3 separate regions of the Homo sapiens genome follow, and regions 1 and 2 are each linked to region 3. Evidence: promoter capture Hi-C in 16 types of primary human blood cells and fetal thymus (Javierre and others, 2016). All regions are on one chromosome and are shown on one strand. Each heading gives the region's core, a stretch centred on a gene start or on the middle of the fragment in contact. The rest is flanking DNA. Distances are from core to core; before and after follow the strand shown. Region 1 overlaps LINC02328 (long intergenic non-protein coding RNA 2328). Region 2 overlaps LOC105370604 (a long non-coding RNA gene). Region 3 holds the start of FLRT2 (fibronectin leucine rich transmembrane protein 2).

The links. Contacts are between HindIII fragments. The CHiCAGO score rates a contact against its expected background, and 5 or more counts as called.
Region 1: a contact is called between a fragment that was not itself captured here and the fragment with the promoter of FLRT2 in region 3, in 3 of 17 cell types (M1 macrophages, M2 macrophages and M0 macrophages). The highest score is 6.7, in M1 macrophages.
Region 2: a contact is called between a fragment that was not itself captured here and the fragment with the promoter of FLRT2 in region 3, in 1 of 17 cell types (M2 macrophages). The highest score is 6.4, in M2 macrophages.

The regions. Positions count from the first base shown.
Region 1 is chr14:86,033,353-86,036,187 of GRCh38, reverse strand. All of the region lies in intron 1 of LINC02328 (long intergenic non-protein coding RNA 2328), which reads right to left. All of the region lies in intron 4 of LINC02316 (long intergenic non-protein coding RNA 2316), which reads left to right. Among named protein-coding and RNA genes, the nearest start is that of LINC02316, 28 kb to the left of the region's middle. The HindIII fragment of the contact is 1,711 bases long and covers 627-2,337 here.
Region 2 is chr14:85,190,776-85,193,670 of GRCh38, reverse strand. It overlaps LOC105370604 (a long non-coding RNA gene), which reads left to right. Exons shown (of 4, transcript XR_944102.1): 1 at 1-396; 2 at 1,408-1,451; 3 at 2,242-2,364. Among named protein-coding and RNA genes, the nearest start is that of SNORD3P3, 80 kb to the left of the region's middle. The HindIII fragment of the contact is 6,139 bases long and covers 1-2,895 here.
Region 3 is chr14:85,528,563-85,531,457 of GRCh38, reverse strand. FLRT2 (fibronectin leucine rich transmembrane protein 2) reads right to left here and starts at 1,314. Exons shown (of 2, transcript NM_013231.6): 1 at 924-1,314. It overlaps FLRT2-AS1 (FLRT2 antisense RNA 1), which reads left to right. Exons shown (of 2, transcript NR_184170.1): 1 at 1-2,841. The HindIII fragment of the contact is 5,870 bases long and covers 1-2,316 here.

The DNA.
Region 1 (2,835 bases), core at 233-2,732, 500 kb before region 3:
AAATAAATAAATAAAGCCAAAACCGGCTATAGTGATAACTGGTGCTGTGTCAAGTATGACACAGCCATACCCCAGCTGTTAGGAACAGCACACCCTAGCGGCTTATAGCTGCATTGATCCCTGGGATTGGCCTTGGCCATTGCAACTGCTTGGTCCAAGGTTAGGTTGCCCCTTTCTCCAACCCCCTACTGCACCCTCACTAGAAGCACCCACTGTGAAAGGGCATCTCAACTCCAGAGCTTCTTATAGAACCAATAAAATTTCAGTTGCAATTTCATTCCAGGTCAGCTTCTCCATGTGCTCAATCCTGCTTTTCTAACTATCTTAGTAATATAGGGCTGAAAAACACTGCCAAATAAATCTGCAAGTTACCTTTCATCTCAGAGTCTCTTTCTATGGAGTCCATTTTCAGATCCTCCCCATGACACTTATATCCCACTTGAGAAACAAGATAATAAATGAAAAGGCAATTCACTGGAAGTAAAAGATGTTAATAATTATTATTAAGGATATACATAGTTTAAAAGTTAAACACATACATGTGTGCATTTGTACTTACGTGTATGTGTGTTCTCTGTGTATTTATGTTAATCTTTGAAACATATGTAAATAAAAATCCCAAAGCTTCTATTATCAGCTAAGTCTTAATTGCTTGTTCACTGCTCTGAGCTAAACAGATGTTATACATGCAAATAAAATTAGAAGACCCAAATGAGGAAAATGGGATATCATAGGTTTCTGGTTTGGAAGTGTCTAGTAATTGCAATAAACTTTGAATAATAAAATATCTTGCCAATATGGGAGGCCGCATAGCAGTACTCTGATGAAGTAGTGATAACATAATTTATGCTATCATGAAACTCTGAGCTATGAAGATCTTCACCTAGGGGGATCAGTATTCCCTAGATTACCTTAAACTTTGATAGTAGCTGCTGGCAACATGTGCATCCTGGATATCCTCGGCCTCTAAGTTCTTTCCACCTGCCAAATTCACACACAACAAGATTCCCAAACAGGGATGAGACCACGAACTTAGCAGAGCTACCTTATGTGACATCTAAAGAGGCAACCAATCTGAAATCAATCTATGAATAGATAGAGCCTAGTATCTGGTTGATTTTAGTTTTGTTTCGAACAGTTGCTCCCATCAAACAAGTAGGGGATCAGTGAGTATGTAGAAAATAGTCATGAAGTTTTAAAAAACAGATGGGTCTTTCAGAAATGCATCATCTTTTTTAAAATGACATTTCAAGAGGGAGGTGCATTTTCAGTAATTCTACAGTCGAGTAGTGTCTCAAAGGCTGATAAAACATCTTAATAACCTGTACTAGCTCCCCAGTCATTACCATTGTATGGAATTTTGGGATAAGTTCAATATCAATATTTATAAAGCCAAATTTTCACTATTTTTACATGTTTTAAAGAAAAACAAAAAATCATTCCTCAGGGATGCACTAATTTAAATCTGACACCTGTGGACATTGACTTGGCTAGAATTTACTATTTTTTCTTTTAATATGAGAAAAACATTAGCAAGAAAATTAGTAATTTGAGGATATTCTCAGTTGGTATGTTTAAATGCTTGAGGAAAAAGGTCAATGTTAAGCTCGTAATTAAATGTCATAATTAAAGATGTGATAATTACAAGTTACATTTTTTCATTAAAGTAACTTCCAAAGATCTTTACTTTTATAATGCCATTTTTGAGTTACTGCTACTCCTGTTATAATGTAATGAAAAGGCTTCCAATATGTATTACTGTATTTGTATATGTTGCTAAATCACACTGGTCTACTTACCCAATTAATAAAATGTGTTAGACATTCCTTCTATATGCCTTCCTCAACATGGGTGCAGTGATGTGTGAGCTGAACTCTGAAATATCTATGCTAACAAAACACAGATAAATTTCACATAAGCTCATAAATTTCTATTCATCTTTTCAGATAATATTGAAAATCCACCTGACTATAGACTTACTTGTCCAAGTTGTATGAAGCCTATCATTTGATTGGTCCAGTATATTCATATGTTTTGCCTCCCCAGCCCAGAGATGTCATCATGGGGCCCTCCCTTAAGAAAATGTAATAACAAAGAATATACAACTGTTTATAATATTTTAAATTAAAACTCAGAAAATCCATGATTTATTTCACACTTCATAAAAATCTCTCTTGATACTCAACTTGCCACCAAAAGAGGAGCTTCACAGAGTTCACATTTAATATCTCTCAACAGAGAGACCTAACCTTCTGTGGACTTTCTCCAAGATTTCACATTATGATAGCCCTGGTAGAAACAGAAAAGTTCATCTGGGGCCACATGTCAGTAGAAGCTTGAGAAATATTTATTTGAGAAATAGGATCGTGCCTCTCATGGTGGGACTCCTGTGGAGATTCATTAAGCGTGCAATTAACAAAAGTGCATTAACAAAAGGCAGCCTCTTCTATTTAAATAGAAAAACTCAATGAACTTCTGCCAGGGGATAGTTTTAAAAGTAAGACATAGATAAGCACATTCTTTAAATATTCAGAAAATTGCTTTTTGAATTATTTTTTAATGATGCAAGTTTTCTTTACACATCTGGAAACTAGCTATACTTGTAAAGAATTATACTATTTGGTACTTAAATTTTTAAAAGTGTAATAACTGTTTTTCACATTCCTCCATGTCATCATTGTGAATACTAACACTGATCCAGGCCATGGTGGAGATCTCTTCCGGAGACTGGATTTGCCCTTTACTGGGTGGCTTTATTTCTTCTATTTCCTTTTGACGTATTTGTTTTCACTTTTGTATCTGTTAGATTCACAGTCGTTATTCACTAACACCCGT
Region 2 (2,895 bases), core at 175-2,674, 340 kb after region 3:
ACCATATCCCAGCAAAGTTCTATTCTTTGACAGCAGGCTTTTTAGGTAGCGTCACATTTTCAGCAACTATTGCTACTGCGTGCCTGTCTTCTGCATATTTCCTGGTTGCCTAGATTACGATGTCATGAGGAACTGATTAGGCCCTTTGCAACTGTGTCTTACATGAGCCACTGTAGCTCAGTCCCATCCCTTAGCTTGTTCCTCTCCTGCCCAATCAGAAAGTTATGTTTTACACCCAAGCCAGCTTCCGTTGTGACATCACACATAAAATGTGCGTAAAATGCTTACATCAATTGCATTGGCTCCTAGAATTCAGAAATTGCAGTGACTTAAACAAGAGAGTCATTTGTTTCTCTCTCACATAAAAGGAATTTGAAAGAACAGAGTCAAGATCAGGTATGGTGACTTCATGTTCAGGCAACTTCTTGTCTTTTCTATCATTCTTCAAGCATGGCTTCAATCCTTACTGTTACTTTGTGGCTGTTGACCCTCCAACTCTCACAACAAAGTTCCAGGCAGAGAGGCAGGAACAGGATAATAAGAGGGGGCAAAAATGCCCAAATCATCTGTCCATTCACTTGAGGAGCCTTCCTGCCTAGTTTCACCCAACAGCTTCTGCTTACTACTTCTTGTCCAGCTGTTACTACAAGAGAGGCTGGGAAATGTAGATCTTCATTTGGGCGTAAAATAACTAGTGAAAAATCAGGGTTCTTTTACTAAGGACAAAAAGTGGAATGAATTTTAAGTTTTTTTTTTTACAAAGCTCTAAATTGGGATAAGTCTTACCTAGAGTTTAAGAAAGGAATTACTATCCCAATAACTTCAGGTTTTAGGAAGATCCATTACTGTATTGCTTCCTGGAATTGGTTTATGAAGAAGGGTTTTGCTGTGAATTTTGACAAATGATTTTTTTTTTTTTTTAGACAGACTCTCACTCTCTCACGCAGACTGGAGTGCAGTGGCGCGATCTCGGCTCACTGCAACTTCTGCCTCCTGGGTTCAAGCGATTCTCCTGCCTCAGCCTCCCAAGTAGCTGGGATTAACAGGCACCCACCATCACACCCGGCTTATTTTTTTGTATTTTTAGTAGAGACAGGGCTTCACCACGTTGGCCAGGATGGTCTTGAACTCCTGACATCGTGATCCACCCGCCTTGGCCTCCCAATGTGCTGAGATTACAGGTGTGAGCCACTGCACCCGGCCGATATATTTTCTTAACCACTAGACATAGTACAAAGAGCAAATATAGTACCACTATAGTATATTGTTAAAATAATGATTGAATTTTAAGTAATGATTAGAACTAGTGATTACTGAGTCCTAGCACTTAACTCTGTTACCCAATTAATTTCTTACAAAACCCTATGTGATTTGTAACAGTATGATTATCTCTGTTTACTGTTGTAGATAATAAAGCTCAGAGAGGATAGCCACTTCCTCAAGGACACAGAGTAAGTGAAGCAAGCCTGGACCTGAGCCCAGGCAGTCTGCATCCAGAACCCAAGCTCTTAGTCATTATACCAAACCACCTGTCTTGAGACCTGTCTTGTTATGCCTAACATCTGAAAAAGGAATTTAAAACTATTTCTTGTTAAATTTTTTTCTGGCTATTAAATCTATGATAAGTGAGACCAACAAGCACTTCCAAATGATTGCTGGTACTTATATAGTTAACATTGTTCCCCTGTGTATCATTTTTTTTTCTTAAGATGGAGTCTATCTCTGTCACCTAGGCTGGAGTGCAGTGGCGCAATCTTGGCTGACTGCAACCTCTGCCTCCCAGGTTCATGCTATTCTCCTGCCTCAGCCTCCTGAGTAGCTGGGATTACAGGTGCATGCCACCACGCCCAGCTCATTTTTGTATTTTTAGTAGAGATGGGGTTTCACCATGTTTGTCAGGCTGGTCTCGAACTCCTGACCTCATGATCTGCCCACCTCGGCCTCCGAAACTGCTGGGATTTCAGGCATGAGCCAGTGTATCATCTTTTAGCTCTGCATCTAGTGGCATGTTTTGGCACAATTCCTAGTGCAAAAGGATGCCAAGTGTAACGTTTCTTATTGTCTCTGAAAAACAAAACAAGAAATGCCAAGTATTCACCCATTCCAAAGCGAGGTGTTAGCTCATGTAGGCATGGAAGGGAGCTTTTCATTCTATTATTAAAATTAAGGTTGGACAAAACCAGGATATATGGTCACCCTACATTATTAAAAACTAATTTTGCAGCCTTTGCTTATCTTCAGTGTTGCAGATGTTGTAAAGGGTGAACACTGTACCATTTAAAGGCTGAGAGATTAGAGAGAGAAGACCACTCGGAGTCAGAATTACTAATGTGCTTTCAGTCTCCTGCCACTTAGTAGATGAAGGTAAGACATGTGCTACTCCTTTACGTTAAGCCAAGAGAAATAGAAAGAGGTAAACAGCATAATTTAAAGCATAATTTAAAGACTCACAGTTCTGTGAGGAGACCGAGGCCCTGCTGGTCTATGTCAATCTTCCTTGTATTAATAGATTTAGAACCAAATAACCATGCTGGCCCAGGCCCTGGCCCTGGCCCTGCCAACATTTCCTTTGGCCCCGTTTCCTCCCTCAGGTAATACATTTAAATATTGTCTTAGCTAAGATACTTTGAGGGGTGGAATTGAGCTGGGAAAAGAAACACAGAGGATGAAGGAGAGAAGTTTCAGGTCATAGTTCATCATCAGGTTAAGTTGCTTAACTTTGTTATCAGGTTAAGTTGCAACAGAATCAGGGCCACCACTGTTCCTACCTGCCCATAAGCATCCTTGCTCAGCACCTCACCTCTGACAAGCTGTTTGCCAGGGAGCGATAGCCTAATTATATAGGATCTACAGGCACCTTCATTCCTTGATCCTTCCATCCCAACTCACAGTTCT
Region 3 (2,895 bases), core at 65-2,564:
TAAATGACGAAAGACCGCGGCAGCCTTCAAAGTGCGGGAGCGAGCCCCGTACTGGTCAGCGCGGCGGAGGGATCTTTCCAGGAGGCCCCAAGCCCCCAAGCCTGTGGAGAGACTTGGTAACAGCTGGCAAGGCCTGCTCCAGCCACCCTCGCTGGCTCCTTGCCCCTGCATTCAGCGCCTGAGGGCGTTATTCGCCCTCTCCCTGCGTCCCACGCAAGCGGCTCAAGGAACTCACTCGATCCGGATTCCGCCTCGTATGCTCTCCAAGCCTTCGCCACCTCCGCAGGCGCTCTAGAAAGGCGTGATGGCCCCAGCTCAGTGCCCGCCAGCCCGAAGAGGACAAGCAGGGCTGGAAGGGACTTGGTTTTGGAAAAAGCCCCACCCGCCCCCACCAACTGGAAGGAAAAGGAATTAGTATCCACCGCATCTGTTTAACTGCTAATAGATCCCAGATTACGGGCAGGTAGTAGGTTGGTGTCTTTAGATACAACAGCCTGATAATAACGCTGGTGACATTAACAACAGCTTGTGGAGGGGAGAGGGTTGTTACTGGTGAAAGTTAAGAGATTCAATCTAGGGAAGTAGGAGACTGAACTCTGACAAGGTTAGGGGCACTGAGAACCCCAATTTAGCATCGATGCATCTACCAGGCAAGAAAATTTGCGTTTTGACCCAGAACTCAGTCATGATGCTCCGTAGAGGAGGTGGATTCGACCAGCAGACAGATGTCCCCAAAGTCGAGAGAGAGCTAAGCTGCCTATTTTCTCTCCAGGTGAAAGACAAAGCCTAGAGCACCCCACTTAAGATGACCACCCCCAGCTCTTTCAAAAAAAAAAAATCCCCCGAAGAGACAGCGTGGTGCCAGCGTAGCAGCAGCTCGGCCGGTTACTGGAAACTTCACCTGGCAACGCAGCCCCTTTTACCTGACGGCTGCGTCTTCTCCTTGCAATGGGCTCATCCGAATCCGACAGGGTCAGGGAGGTGGAAAGGGAAGACGCTGGCGCGGCAGCAGCGGGGATCCCGGGGCATGGTATTGTTTTAGGGGTCGCCGCCGAGGTCCCTCCTGCCCATCGTTGAGAACTGCCACCCTGATCCCAGGGCTCGGTGGACACGGCGGCGGGAGCGGAGATGCCGCCTCGCCGCTGCTGGGCACCAGGGACGGAGGACCAGAGGCGCACCTCGGAAAGGAGTAGCTCAGCGCCTTGGCGCGGAGATTTGCGGGCACTGATGATATCTCGAGCGCTCGTTCCTCCGCGGTGACAATGGATAATGCCAAACGCGCAAGTGACGGCGACAGGTTTCGAACGTACAACTAACTACAAGGTACCCAGCCTGAGACAGTATGCTGCTTTTCCCCTCCTCCTCCTCTCCCTCCTACCAGGGAGGGAACTAACTTAACCCTGTGTGCGCCTGACACTCCCTAGAGAAGCTGGGATCGACTAGGAAACCGCAGGCAGCGGCTCCCGGGGGCGAGAGCTTTGTTCACGTGCGTTTCCAGTGGGTGTGTTGCTGTCTAGGGGCACTCGCGTGGCAAGACGCCCGTGGCTGGCTTCCAGCGCCCAAGATTCAAGGAAGGGAAGGAGCCCTAGCGTTTCATCCGGACCAGACCCAGCCCTCGGAGTCTATTTTTTGCCTCCAGTTACCGGATTTATTGAAGTTGCCAGCGAAGTTGGTTTTATTCCTTTACTTCTCTGCTCTCCGCCCCCGTCCACATCCCCCAACCCTGTATTATTTCCTGTCCTAGCTGCGCTTTAAAGATTCGGAACTTTTCACTCGTTCTAGCTACAGATTTTAACTGTGTTCCGTGTGCGAGACGAATTGTGGAGGGCACCCACCCACCCATGCCAAGTGTAAATGAAACCGCAAGAAAAGCTGCCTCCCACTCACCCATCCAGTGTCCGAGTAAGCCTAATGACACACATTCACATAACTAAGAAGACACGGGAAGATAGGGGTGCGGAGGACGGAGTTTGATGTGTGAATGGGAAATGGAGAGAGGGGACAGCGCGCGCGAGAGAAACAGCGCGAGCCTGAGCCTTAGAATGGAATAAACGGGAAACACACACAAGAATGACGATGCAAAAAATGTATCTAAGTCCCAACATTGACAGCAGAGGGTCAGCTTTAAGCGCCTACATTTTGATCCGCGAAATTTCCCAGCTTTTTTGGAGGCGGTTACATAGAGAACACAGGAGCCTCTGCCTTGGCCGCCCAGATGCTTTGCATTTTGTAAACAGCTTTGACTAAGTGCTCTGGACTTCCAAGAAGTTAACTGGAGTGGAAGGCGAGTCATATTGTGGATGCGGAATGGAAGCTTAGACAAGAAAAAACTGTCAGCAGAGCGCCTCTGCTCTCACCGTCACACCCAAATGAGCCAGGACGTCGCTCAGAGCGCAAACTGAGATCCACACAGGGACATCTTCAACCGAATCTTTCTTCTGTCTCCATTCCGGACTAAGGAAAGAAAGAAAGAAATACGGAGCCTTTATAGAGTATTCAGAGGCTACACACATGGATCTTGCTGAAACGGAGTTATTTAAAAACAGAGAAAGTGTGTTTTCCCATGAGATAGATGTTATAGTTTCTCTCTGAAACATACCCAAGTCTATGGGTGTCAATAATAGCCATTTCAAATGCCTCTCTGAGCCTTGCCAGCCCCAGAAGAGGCTGTGGGAATGCTGCTTCCAGCTTCCCCTGTGCAGAACTCCGTTGTAAATCCTTCTGAGTTTCCAAGGTGGCAGCAGAGCATAGGGATAGCTCCTCAAGCTCCAGCATCAACAAGGAAGATCACATTTTAGGACAAATACTCATCTACCTGCATTTAAACATCCATTTTCGTATGTAAGTGTACATAAGTATCCGCAGGAGGTTCTTCCTTTGAAATCTTGATCCAGG